Linked DNA regions of Homo sapiens: regions 1 and 2 are each linked to region 3. The links are contacts of gene promoters, found by promoter capture Hi-C in blood cells and fetal thymus (Javierre and others, 2016). All regions are on one chromosome and are shown on one strand. The core of a region is centred on a gene start or on the middle of the fragment in contact, and the rest is flanking DNA. Distances in the headings are between cores, read along the strand shown. Region 1 has its middle 84 kb from the start of DYNAP. Region 2 has its middle 120 kb from the start of RAB27B. Region 3 holds the start of STARD6 (StAR related lipid transfer domain containing 6).

Region 1 (4,750 bases), core at 1,349-3,848, 320 kb after region 3:
CAGTGATATTCAAAGGCAATGACTCCCTGACGTGGACCTTGGCTGATACTAAAAACCACAGCTCAGGGAGGCACAGGAGTGGGATTGGAATGAGTTCCCTTTCATACCCATTAGCAGTTGTCTAGACTTTGAAATTTATTCATCAAAAAAAAAAAAATAGCAGCACTGTGTTTTGTTTCTAGCGGTATTAATAAAAAATATCTTCTGATACATAGTTCACAAAAATATTAGCCTATCACAGGCTGCAGAAATCTTTTTCTCCTTTCCCTGAAATAGATAATATAATTCTATGCTCTATAGCAGGACTCCTCAACCCCTGACAGTTCATGGCCTGGTAGGAACTGGGCCGCACAGCAGGAGGTGAGCCACGGTTAAGCAACCAAAGCTCAGCTCTGCCTCCTGTCAGATCAGTAGTGGCATTAGAGTCTCATAGGAGTGTGAACCCTATTGTGAACTGTGCATGTGAGTGATATAGGTTGCACCCTCCTTATGAGAATCTAATGATAAATGTAATGGGCTTGAATCATCCCGAAACCATCCTACCACCCTCCCATCAGTGGAAAATTTGTCTTCTATGAAACTGGTCCCTGGTGCCAAAAAGGTTGGGGACCACTGACCTGTAGGGAATCCTGGCTTCAAAGAGATTATTTTGGGTGGCACCAAGAGCAATCCTTGTCTTTGTTCACACAGTTGCTGGGCTATCACACCAGCATACACAGAGTTTCATCCTCCCAACTAAAATGTTGGAAGCGCTTACAGATTGGCCCGTGGTTAGCCAAGGGTGAAATAGTGTTTGCTTCTTTGTGGAAAATTTCCACTTCCTAGGCTTGGCATTTGGAGGTCTAAGTCAAGAGCATTGATTTCACAGCAGTGGGCTCTTTACTTCTAAGGCTGTGTTTTACTCATGTTGGTTTGTCATTGGATGGGCTCCCAGTCTCACTTGAAAGCATTTCTGCTGAAAATAATAATAATCTTGGCAGAGCATAGACTAATATGGCTTTTAAAGATACATCTCCAATCTCTCCTACACCATGTCTTCTCTGATTCTTGCAGCCAAAAGTGGCCACTCCTTCCTCTAAATGTCCATGCAAATCTGTTCGTACTTCATATGTCATTCACCACATTCTAGTTATATTATACCACAGTATAATTACTTTTTAATATAGCATAGTGTTTAAGTCTGATTAAAAAACTTGGGCTCTGAATTCATAGATATTTGGGTTTGAATCTTTGCTCAGACACTTGCAGGTTATGTGACTTTGGACATGTTGCCTGACTTTGTCTCACCTGTAAAATGGGGATAAAGAGAGAATGTAGCCCTCAGAGTAGCTGTGGGAATTAATGAGAATTAAGCATCTAGCACAGAATAATTGCCCAATAAATATTAACTTTTATTATCTTCTCTCTAATTAACCTATAAGCTTTTTTTTTAAGAGCAAAACACATGTTTTATTCAACAGTGTACTAGTCTAGTAGCCCATGGCATAGTGTCTTACACAAAGTAAGCACTCAAAAGTAATTTTGAATGGATAAGAGAATGGCGAGGCCTCGAGATTATGAAACATGAAAAGGAGACAGGAAGAGAAGCTCATGAAGGAGCCTGTATTAGTCCATTCTCTCATTGCTGAAAGGAACTACCTGAGTCTGGGTAATTTATGAATCACTTGAACCCGGGAGGCAGAGGTTGCAGTGAACCAAGATTGTGCCATTGCAATCCAGCCTGGGTGAAAGAGTGAAACTCTGTCTCAAAAAAAAAAAGAAAAAAAAGAAAAGAAAAATAACTTGTCCAAGGTCACATTGTTATTAACAAGCAGAATTGAGCTTTGAGTGAAGTACTTGTTCTATGACACTCTCCATCCAACTAAACTTTGCCTTCCATATTTGTTGGCTTATTTTGTCCTGGGAAGGACTGTGTTTCTAGAGCACAGACTTTTCTCACCTTGTCTGAGTCCTTAACATCAGCCTAAGGGATGCTGTGTCACACAAGGCCTAACATGGTCAGTCAGATTACTCAAGGTCTAATTTGGACGGCTGCATGCTTAATCTATTCAATCCTGTGCTTAATAGGCCATTAAAAGGGCTGACAACACAGTCCCCAGAATGCCTTGGAAGATTCATTAGTCACACACAGGGGCTGCTTTTGTGCTTCACACAAACAAGGCCATCTGAGAAAGCAAAAGAGGATAACATTTTAAATCCTCTATTCCTACACTTCATTTTTTTGTTTGCTTTTACCTTTTGCTGATTTTCCCTTCGGACATAGGGAACTTTTTTCACATTCTTTAGATCCTAGGCTCTGCCCCAAATTTATCTCTGCCAGAATTCACCTAGGTATACATTCAAGGAAAGAACTAAAGTGAAATATGATGAGCAGTTTCTAAGTACTTTAACTGATATGGTGTATAACAAGTATTTTGAGAGAGATCTAAATTTAAAAAAATACACCTAGCATATTATGTTATGCTACTTCATTAAAAATTAGAGACAAAATTGAATTCCTATTTATACACGCATACTGTATCTCTCATACCAAAACTAAGACTTATAAAGATAAATATTAGTAAATGTTAATCCATGAAAGTCTTTCCATTTTCACATGGAAAAGACACAATAAACCAAAGTCAACAACAAACCGGGAAAAAAATATTTTCAACACATAGAAAAAAATTTTAAATATTGCTTACATATAATGAGTACTTACAAATTAATAAGATTTTTATAGGCACACACTAAGAAAGAGTAACAAAGGACATTGATGTGCTTGTCACAGAAGAAGTCTATGTAATGAATAAAAACAGAGGGTAAGATACTTGACCTCATAGTTAAATATATAGAAATTGAAATAAAAGTGATATATTTTTATTACTAGGTTTAGACAAATTTTCTGAAAATTAATGACTTTTTAAGAAGACATAACTATTTGGTATTTGTGACCCCACTAGAAAAGGAACATGCCTGTAAGAACACTTCCTGAAATATACACTAAAAAGTAAAGTATCAGCAGACTCTGCTACTAGCTTTGCTCATTGGATGTGGAGACATGAGCTCTCTTTCCCGCTATGTTTCTCCACCTTCCAGCTATTCCTAGAGAGTTGGCCATGAGCCTCAGTGGACACATGACCTAGGTCCTCAGGGGTTCCCAAAGGAAATTTGAGTTTTGAGGCATTTGAAAGAGGAAGAAATATCTCTTCCTCTGAATTTTTTTCCAAAGGAGATAAGTAGATATTTTAACAAAGGCATTTCAGTCAATGAAAGGTGGTGATTATGAGAGAGGTTCCAATGACAGTTCTGCCACTTATTATCTGAGTTACTCTGGGAAAGGGCCTTATTTCCTCTAAGTGTCAAATGTCCAAATGTTTTTTATACATTCTGAAAAAGTAGAGCAATCAAGAGTAATAAACCAGGTAATAAAACATACTATCAAGAACTAATAATTAAAACAGTGTGGTACTGGCAGACAGAGACCCATGCGAAAGCATATACAATCTAGAAAGAGATTCCCTCCCCTCAATATAAGAGTTCAGTAATAAAGATGGGATCTTATACCAATAAGCAAAATGTGAACTATACTTAATAAACAGCATCTCTATTTAACAGCAATCTGGGGAGGGGGGAAGCTGCATCCATACCTTATACCTTACACCAGGATAGGAGAGTTTAATTTTCTGAGTTGCCCAAAAGAAAAGATCCATAGTTACAGACACTAGGGGTTTTCTTTCTGATCATCTAATGGTAAAATCCACAGTCAACAGCCTCACCCTCTAAGCAATGTACAGAAAGCTTTTTTTTTTTTTTTTTGAGACAAAGTCTTGCTCTGTCTCCCAGGCTGGAGTGCAGTGGTCCATCTTGGCTGACTGAAACCTGCAACCTGCACCTCCCAGGTTCAAGTGATTCTCCTGCCTCACCCTCCCAAGTAACTGGGACTACTGGCATGCACCACATGCCCAACTAATTTTTTGTATTTTTAGTAGAGACAGAGTTTCACTATGTTGGCCATGCTGGTCTCAAACTCCTGACCTCAAGTGATCCACCCACCTTGGTATCCCAAAGTGCTGGGATTACAGGCATGAGCCACCGTACCTGGCCTCATACATTCTTTTAATCAAAAAATATAGGCCTGGTGTGGTGGCTCATGTCTGTAATCCCAGCACTCTGGGAGGCAGAGGCAGGCAGATCATGAGGTCAGGAGTTCGAGACCAGCCTGGCCGACATGGTGAAACCTCGACTATACTAAAAATACAAAAATTAGCCAGGCATGGTGGCACGTACCTGTAACCCCAGCTACTCGGTGGGCTGAGACAGGAGAATTGCTTGAACCTGGGAGGCGGAGGTCACAGTGAGCCAAGATTGCGCCACTGCACTCCAGCCTGGGTGACAGAGCGAAACTCGGTTAAAAAAAAAAAAAAAGAAATAGAAATATATACAACATTAACTATAAGTTTTATGAGGACAGGGCTCATGTCTGTTTTGCTGACTCACGTCTGTTAAATGTGTAGCAGAGGTCTTGAGATATGTGAGGCACTCTATGTCCTACTTGTTGAATGACTCCAGAGGCAAGAGGAAGAATTAATTGTGGCATTGTGAGAAGAGAAGACTGTCCATCTACTTTCTGGATTTAGAGGAAAACTGTATAGGAGATGATAGATGATAAAAGAGATAGAGGCTCATAGCAGAGCTGCGAGAAATGGAGAAAGACCCTCCGTAGAAAGATCATAACCTCTGCTTAACGCTTTGTGTCAAAGAACCCTGT
Region 2 (4,754 bases), core at 1,015-3,514, 350 kb after region 3:
CGGTTGAATTCTTTCTTCTGAGGAGGCAAGAATTGGGGCTGATGCAGACCTGTATGGATTCACCACCGCTAACATAACCATATTCATTTTCCATCATGTTTTTATGACAACTAAAAGCTATATTATGATGATGATGATGATGATGATGATGATGATGATGATGAAGTTCCTCAAAATGGGGCTTTGTTATGTAAATAATGAAAAAGTCACTGATGGCAACTGATGAGATTATTTGTGGCCATTTTTTGGTCTTCATTTTCATAGACTTTAGAGAATGTGTTTTCAAGATATTCTCAAGGTGACCTTTCCTTGGTAGAGCATACCTTGCATGCCATTAAATATACAGACAAACTGGGTATGACTCCTTCAGTCTGGTTAGGAATTTTTGTGTAGAGCTCTCCTGTCTATGTACATTTCCTGGACTCTACTTAGCCTATTGGCAAAGGTGCTCTACGCTATGTGTTTAAAAGCATTTATATTAGATGACACTGCTTTAATTTATATTACATATAGTGAGGCAAAGTCCATGTTAAGTCCTTTCCTTGTGCCATTATAAATGTTTAATTTGGTTCAGGACAGGAAGGCTACCGAAGTTATATCCAAACAAAGCATATGATGTATTACAAGGGAAGTCTGATGTGATGAGGATACCACCTTGGTCATTTTAAAAAAATGCTAGTTACATTAGAAAGCATAAGACATACACTTTAAATCTTTTACCTCAACTTAAAATAGATAAATGTTAACTTATTTGTCACTCTTTTACAATGAGGACAAGTTCTTTCCTTTGAGTGTGTATGAGTATCAAGTGTCTATAATTTCTAGTTTTAGTTCTGTTAAGTGGAGCAAGAACACAAAACCCTTGCAAAGCCATCTGAATACATAATTCTCTATTATTTTTGTTTGTTTGTTTTCAGACACAGTTTCACTCTCGCTGGAGTGCAGTGATGCAATCTTGGCTCACTGCAACCTCCACCTCCCAGGTTCAAGTAGTTCTTGTGCCTCAGCCTTCCAAGTAGCTGGTATTACAGGTGTGCACCACCACATCTAGCTAATTTTTGTATTTTTAGTAGAGACAGGGTTTCGCCATATTGGCCAGGCTGGTCTCGAACTCGTGACCTCAAGTGATCCACCTGTCTGAACCTCCCAAAGTGCTGGGATTACAGGCATGAGCCACCATGTCACAAAATTTACTTTCAATCCTCTAGAATATTTTGGGCCCATAGCTGATTTGGCAACAATTTATTTTAGCGAATCATCTTTATCTAGTTGTTACAAAGCATTACATTTATTTTTCTTAGAAATAGTAACTCTCTTTTGCACTCATATCTTATCAGTATAAACACCTTTCAATTCAATTATATAGTTACACTAAAAATACATCCAACACTAACAGCTTTGGTACTATACGCTAATGAATCTTGGTTTACGTGTAACTCAAATAGAGTGGAAGAACACGGACATGCTTGGGAGTAAACACTAGCCTTCTACATGTGTGGACATCAGTCAGCATGTTTTGTTGAGTAGATTGGAGTAAGTCGGTTAAAATGAGGAGCATTGGGACTGGGGGTGAGGCAAAAGTGATGGCAATGATGATTTATTGAAGCTTCTTTAAAAGAGCTTTACTCTATCTACAAATATGAATTATTCTCAGTGTTGATACAAATAACATAGTCACACAAGATGTTGAATATATTGTGGAATTCAAATATTTAAAAGAACGGTGGGGCTGGTAAGAAATGCATTTGCAATGTAGTATAATGTAGTATAGTTTCATCTCATATCTTTTTCTTAGATGAGTCATGTTACTTGGTGTTATTATTCTAAGCATTTGATCACCCCAGGTCATGAAAAGCATGACACACTTGTTTTGAGACAGAAAATTTCTCTTACTACATGAATCCAGAAAGCACATGATTCACATTTTATATGCCTTTGAAACGGGAAATGTTCCCTTGTTCCCCTAGCAGGGTGTGTGATGGGGGTGTGGCTCGCTTCTTCAGTGCCTGCTGCTCAAAACTCTAGGGGAGCCCAGAGACAGGCAGGCTGTGGGGCTCCAACCTCACTGCAGTGTCTAGGCATGAATGTTTATAGCTCCTGAAGCCCCAGTGGGTTTGTGTTACAGGGTGCTCTCTTGGTTTGCTGTCTATAGGCAGCTTATGTTAACCAGCTCAATTAGACTCTACACCTTGTCACAAGGACAGAGGGCATTCTGTATCCTGGGTTCTTGCCTTGGTGTACCAGAAGAATCGGATCACAGGTGGGCTTGGAGAATGAGTGCCAAGTTTTATTGAGTGGAAATAGCTCTTCACTGCTGGATGAGCCAGAAGGGAGACGGTTTTCCCCTGGAGTTGGGCCGCTCAGGCACATGCCAAACTCCGCCTCTCCTGCAGGTGGATGGCCTGCCAGTGTGCCAGCGTTTGTTGGTGTGCTCTTCTGCCGGCATGCTCCCTCCGTGTCCTCTTGATGTCCAGCAGCTTGTCTTCTTCCACTGATGTTTTCCTCTCGCCCTCCAGCAGCTTTCATCTCTGCCTTGCTAGGGTCTCAGCTTTTTATAGGCCCAAGAGAGGGGTGTGGTGGGCCAGGGTGGTCTTGGAAAATGCAACATTTGGGCACAAAGGCAGAAGTGCCTGTCCTCACCTAGGTCTGTGGGGCTAGGGCCCTAGCCAGGGACCTGCCTTTCTCTACCCAGCATTTCTCTACCCTCCTCCTGTATCACCTTGAAGAGGTAGAGGTTCTGTTTTATTTTAATAACCACCACAATTTATTTAACCATTCCTTGATCCACGTATAGAATATTCATGCTAAGCACTCTGCATGTATGATCCTATCTAATCCTAAACAAACTCTTTGCAGAGGTATTATTACTGGATTATACTTATGAAGAAACTGAGATTCACTTTGTAAAGTTTCAAAGTGAAAGAAGCTTGAAAGTCATTGCTGTTATCAATGCTGCACATCTCCAGAGTGGCAGCCTTTGGCTTTATGCTACTAAATATAGTGGTTTCCTTTTCTAAAAAGAAACACTTTTTTTTTTGTTTTGAGATGGAGTTTTCTTCTTGTTGCCTAGGCTGGAGTGCTATGGCATGATCTTAGCTCACTGCAACCTCTGTCTTCCGGGTTCAAGTGATTCTCCTTCCTTGGCCTCCCGAGTAACTGGGATTACAGGCATGTGCCACCACGCCCGGCCAATTTTGAATTTTTAGTAGAGATGGGGTTTCACCATATTGGCCAGGCTGGTCTTGAACTCCTGACCTCAGGTGATCCAGCTACTTCGGCCTCCCAGAGTGCTGAGATTACGGGCGTGAGCCGCCGTGCCCGGCAGGTTTTCTTTTTGTAATGGGGAGCTATTCTGTGCTAGGCCTTTAAATGTAGTTGACATGGGGTCATCACAAGAAGCCTATGAAGTACTACTTATTAAACTATATGGAAGCACAAAGTGTCAGATTTAAATCCAGGTCTGTAGTCCCAAAGTCAGTGATTATCCCACTCTATTCTATAACAGATACATTTGCATATGGCACCTGACTGCCACAATTCACTAGCACGTGAGTACACATAAGGTCACATATAATTGATAACCAATCCCACAGGATCTGAGCCCCCCTTCACCGGCTCATCCATGAATTCCAGCTCCTTACAATGTCCTTCACTGCACAGTCATCTTGAAAAGCCACAGACTGGTCCAAGTCACACTGTTCTTATAGTCACCATTGGCTTTTGGCAAGTTGAGCCCAAGATCTGTGATACCAGCACCCCCCTTTACAAACCTGGGCACTGTGACACAGCTGTCCCTGCAGAACCAGCAGTTCCTGACCTGATGGGGGTCCCCAGTGATTCTTCCAGGCACTGAATCTCAACACACCTGTGTGAGCCAAGCAGACTGAAAGGGAAGAGGATAACAGCACCCACACATTTCAAGTTTTCTCAGGGCCAAAATACTACAGAGTTTATGAGCTATCTATCTTAGTCAATTCAGGCTTCTGTAACAAAGTGTAGACTGGGTGGTTTATAAACAACATAAATTTTCTTTTCACAGTTCTGGAGGCTGGAAGTCCAAGATCAGAGTGCCAGCACAGTCAGGTTCTGCTGAGGGTTCTCTTCTGAGTTGTAGGCTGCCCACTTCCCTTTCGATCCTCACATAGCAGAAAGTGGGTGAGAGAGCTCTTGCGAGTCTCTTTGATAAGAACACTAATCCCACCCATTAGCGCTCTACCCTCATGACCTAATCTCTCAATGACCCCCACATTCTGAAACCATCACATTAAGGGTTAGAATCCCAACATATGAATTCTGGGGGGACACAAATATTCAGTCTATTGCAGTATCTTAGGGTTTTCAGTTTGTATGGAGTCTTTTTCTATTACAATCATGTCCATCTCAGTCACAAAGATCTACAAAGACCCACCACTCCCCTCTACCCGCAGGTCCTGTGGTGAGGTCTGTTTCCTCAAGCTGGGATCCTTCTGATTTATGGTGACATGTCTCTCAGCAGCCTCACTTTTCTTCTCTCCACCTGGAGTCATTGCACAGATGACATGTCAGTGTATGTCTGAGGCCCAATCATGGACATAGTGCTTTGTTTCTCAGGGAGCTCTCCAATATTATAAAAATCAGTAGCTACAGAGAAATGCTTAATGGTGGGGCATTGCCTCCCTCACACACTAGCCACTCCCCTTCTGCAGTCCAGCCCATTCACCACTTTGTAATAACAAGGATCTAATTGAGGGTACATTAGTGTCCTTTGGTGCTGA
Region 3 (4,410 bases), core at 981-3,480:
TCCAGGATCCAGAACTCTGAGAAATAAATTTATTGTTTACAAGTCATTCAGTCTTTGGTAATTTCTTATGGCAGCCCAAAAGGACTGAGACAGGCACTGTGGTAGATGTAGCAACAACAGTTGAGTAAGATACTAGACATAACTATTACTGCTGTGAATGAGTTCCGGAAGCTGCAGTCTCACTGGTCCTTCGGGTCATCATCCAGCTTTCAGTTAGGGGAAGCTGGCAGGTAAGGTGAAAACAGAACTGGATTCAAATCCTGACTTTGTCACTTAGTACAGCTATATTATTTTGGATAAATTGCTTAACCTTTGAACTTCAACTTCCATATCTATAGAATGGGGATAATAATATCTATCTCACCGAATCATTATAAGGATTAGTTGAGTTAATATATGTAAAAATGCTTTAAACAGTGTGGAGCCCTATACTAGGTTATCAAAATAGTTAGTTTCTCTTTAAAAAAATGGACACATATAAATCCATCATTTAAAAAACTCTCCAAAGATCTGCTTCCTTAAGCACTTAAATAAACCTTCTTAAAGTTTAATTATTGGAACATTTCTTCCTTAGCTCTCACTTAAAACTCTTCAGGTTGGATCATAAATCTATTTTCTCTTATTTAATTCTCCAGCAAGGCACAACAGGTAGTTGATAGTCTCTATATTTGAAAAGTTTTAGTAAACCATTATTATAACCTCCTCTTTCCTAGCAGAGTCCTGGTTTCTTTACCTTTCCTGACAGATCTAATGCAGAATTTTAGTAACTACTGGGGCTCCTCTCCAAATCCTTGTGGAAATCTCCATATCTCTTAACCTGTGAGGAAACAAGGCAGAAGTAGAATTATTTTGATCCATGAATTAGGTCAATATATTTGATAATTTTCTTTATATCTTCTCAGTGTCCTTTATCTATACTTTGTCTTCATTAGGAAACATTTGCTACATATATGCCCCAAGATGAAAGAAAAATATAGTACAAAAAACTTTAAAAGATACTGTTTATAAAAAGAATCTTTAAGAAACTATTTTAAAGGAACTCAGTTTAAAAAGACACTTAGGTGGAACGTGGATACAAAAATTTAAGTTTTTAAGCTTACGTCACTAACAATTAACAAGGATTGTTAATCCCCGACCAGGGCTCGTCTTAGCATATAAAACACCGTTCTTGATTTCCTATTGGAAACCTACTTGATATTAATTGATCTAGAGACTTTGAAGATTATTGGGACATACCACTAGCAGGGTATGTCTTATTTTCAAATCACCAACTATTACTGCCACAATAGACCTGTGTTTAACCACTAAACTGAACGTTATAGCTTCCGGACTTTTTCATTTGCTAAGAGAAAAGGGAAGGTAAAATTTAGTAGGCTACAAAGGGTAAAAAGAAGAAAGTGCAAACAGTAAGACTACAATTGTATTACATGGTGGTGGAACGTCGGATGAGCTGGAACATATTCAGATGGACTCATGGTCAAGGATATCTTCACTCATAGGGTCAGTGGAAAATAAACATAAACCAACATTGGGATGGCCTCTTTTTTTGATACACCAATTGGTTGAAACTGGATTCCTTCCAGACTTACAGACAGGTTCACACATGTTAGTGAGTCTTTACATCTGTTTGTACAATGACCCTCTTTCTGAGCTGCCTGACTGGGTCCCCAATCCGTGCGGGGTCACTGCCATTCTTCCCTGGGAATCAAGGCTTCCTAGGAGTTTGTTAAATCCCATCCCTGGCTAAACTCGGGTCTCCAATCTCCCATCTGCTTTGTGTGTGAGAGGCTCCGGGGTGTGAGAGGAAAGGCACTGAAGAGGGAGTGAAAGAAGTGGTGAGGGGGGACTGCCTACTAGCTGAGACGATATCTTATTTTTGGCGGGGGATGCTCTGGAAGCGGGGAGGCTGAACTCACTTGGAAAAACTGGAGCTGTGGGGCAGACTCTCAGCGACCGGAACGACAGCCGCCAGCGCCCTTAAGTCTCCCTCCCCACCCAGTCCCCTCCCGCAGACCCCGGGGCCGGCTGAAGGGAGATCAGCAAGTCCCCGCGCAAACTGGCCGAGAATAGCTGTGACGGAGGTTGGAAGGGCGTGGGGGGCAGCGACTTGGATGCAGCCCACATCCCCCCATTCCCAGCCCCAGAAAGGAGGGAGAAACAGCACCTTCCAGCAGGGGTCGCGACCTAACGCTCAACAGCATCCTCTCTTCTCCGGCCGCTCCCTCATCTCCGCTCGCGCCCGGCGCCCCACTGCCGCGCATGCGCACCGCAGGCCGGCGCCATGTTGGGGCGGTTTGAAAGCGAGCGCGGGTGTCGAGCTCTGCTGTGACTGCGGAGGAAGCTGCGAGTGAGCCGAGCCTGAGGCGGGGCGGTGTCCGGGTTGGGGATGCTTTGTGGTGTCTCGCGTTGGGTAACAGGCCTGAGCTTTCGGCGGAGAGCTGTGGAAGTGTGCGGTTTTTGTTTTTGTTTTCCTTTATTTTTATTTTGGGGCCTTAGGGGTGAGTTAGGACGGAAAGGAGGGTGTCTTTTCGAGGGTTGTCCCATCCTGTGACAGCCGAGAAAAGGCGAAAGGAGAGTGGCGAGGAAAGAGGAGGAGACGTCTCCTGAGGGAGGGCGCTTGTGGAGTCTCTGTGGAAGGAAGAACACTGTAGGGGGAGTGCCCCCTGGGCGAGGGAGGGTCGCGGGACGCGGCGGAGGGGGCTCACACGGGCGTCTGCGGACCTGAGGCGGCGACAGGAAGGGGCTTGCGCTCTGGGGCTGTCGCTTCGGAACACTTCTCCTTCAGTCCATTGCTGCGCTCGCCCTGGCTGCTGAATAAATGGTTTCGGAGTGAAAAGCATCTCACTGAAGAACTTGTCTGTGTCTGTGACTGACGGGCGGTGGAACACCAAAGGGAGGGTGTCGCCTGATTGGGACTGGAAAAATTGGAATTCAGGGCGCCCGGGGTAGGGGAACGATGCGCACTGCTGGAGACGGGCGACCTTCGCTGGCCGGTCGGTGGGTTCCTGGTTTTCTGCTGCCGAGTAAACAAACGTTCCCTTTCCTAACTTAGCAGTCACAGAGCTATTTCCAAGAGTTGTTCTTAATTTCCTGTGCGATATTCCCATTGGCTATTTAACACTGAACATTCTGTTTTTGAATCAAAGTTAGTTAAAATTTGTTGTCAATAAGTTTAACATTCTGTTCTTCCGCGTGATGGATTTTCTTTTGGAGATTCGAACTGAAGCCTGTACGGAGGAAATGGTAAGATATATGGGATTTGCATGAGATATGTGGGGTTCAAAATAATCCTGTGGCTGAAGTGGGGAGAAGTGGGTGGGTCCCTACCCACTTTAGCTACAATTGGGGTCTGTTCAGCGATTGTTGGAAGCAGGATGATGAGTACATAGGGGTTTATTGAACGATTCTACTTTTGTATACTCTTTTGGGGAAAAGTTGGAAAACTTTTCATAATGAAACTTAAATTGTGCATTTTCTTTTTGTCTGTCCTGTGAGTTGAAATAACTAGTAAATGTTATCACCCACTTACGGAGACCAATACAACAGCTTTCTCTTTCAAGGTTTTGTAAAATAAAATCAGTAGCCTGTTCGGCATTCAAAGACAGAAAACATTTGGTCAGGCTTATCCAAACAAATTTACTTGAGTGAGTTTAAACTTCTTTAAATAAAAGGGATACGAAAAAGGTAAAGCTGGCTTAGTTTAGCCATTCGTCAGAGATATACCAGTATTACAGAATTCAGATAAATCAATGAGACGAAACAACTGTTACCTTATGTTCTGCCATTTGCACTGACCACGGTCAGATCTCTTGTAATGGCCATTGCATGCTCTAACGCTGTGGTAGGATGATGTTTTACTTTGTCTCTTATTTAATTAGAAAACTTTCGATGTTTTAAAGCCAAATTTAATAGTTACTAAGATTACATTAAAAGTTGTTATAACAAATATTTCTAAAATTATAGCCAAAAATTAAACATTATAACATCATAGCATATGTTAAGTCCTCAACATTAATACTTTTTTAGTATAGGAAATCCATTCATTTAATTTTAAAAAGAATGTCATCATGGACTGAATTAGTGCCGGTTCGTTCTGTGATTTCTTAGGTTTTCAAATATACATCCTGTTACTGTACTGAGGTAGACAGGGATTCTCTCAATTTTAATAATGGAAAAACAGAAGAACACATTGAGTTGATTTTCACATTATTTAAGCTTCCTTTGAAAGAGGTGAGCTGAATCCATTTAACATAAGAATTGAAAATAGGGAGGGTGGTACCAAAAACGAAGGTCAGGAAATGATTAACTATTTTAGGAAAAGTGTATATTGCTAACTCATTCCAGAATAAGACCTGCAGTTTATTTACAGTTAAATGTTGTAAATGTACTAGCATTTATAACATTGAAAGT

The links. The method cuts DNA at HindIII sites, captures the fragments that hold promoters and counts their contacts. A CHiCAGO score of 5 or more calls a contact.
Region 1: a fragment that was not itself captured here is called in contact with the fragment with the promoter of STARD6 in region 3 in 2 of 17 cell types (M2 macrophages and total CD4 T cells); the score reaches 5.2 in M2 macrophages.
Region 2: a fragment that was not itself captured here is called in contact with the fragment with the promoter of STARD6 in region 3 in 2 of 17 cell types (fetal thymus and total CD4 T cells); the score reaches 6.6 in fetal thymus.

Annotation. Positions count from the first base shown.
Region 1 is chr18:54,673,237-54,677,986 of GRCh38, forward strand. No RefSeq gene overlaps it. Among named protein-coding and RNA genes, the nearest start is that of DYNAP, 84 kb to the left of the region's middle. The HindIII fragment of the contact is 2,359 bases long and covers 1,420-3,778 here.
Region 2 is chr18:54,710,586-54,715,339 of GRCh38, forward strand. No RefSeq gene overlaps it. Among named protein-coding and RNA genes, the nearest start is that of RAB27B, 120 kb to the right of the region's middle. RefSeq lists a silencer at 1,753-2,047. The HindIII fragment of the contact is 1,320 bases long and covers 1,605-2,924 here.
Region 3 is chr18:54,355,628-54,360,037 of GRCh38, forward strand. STARD6 (StAR related lipid transfer domain containing 6) reads right to left here and starts at 2,231. Exons shown (of 8, transcript NM_139171.2): 1 at 2,165-2,231; 2 at 734-817. C18orf54 (chromosome 18 open reading frame 54) reads left to right here and starts at 2,279. Exons shown (of 9, transcript NM_001288980.2): 1 at 2,279-2,448; 2 at 3,147-3,243. RefSeq lists enhancers at 2,783-3,294, 2,796-2,865. The HindIII fragment of the contact is 3,120 bases long and covers 1,094-4,213 here.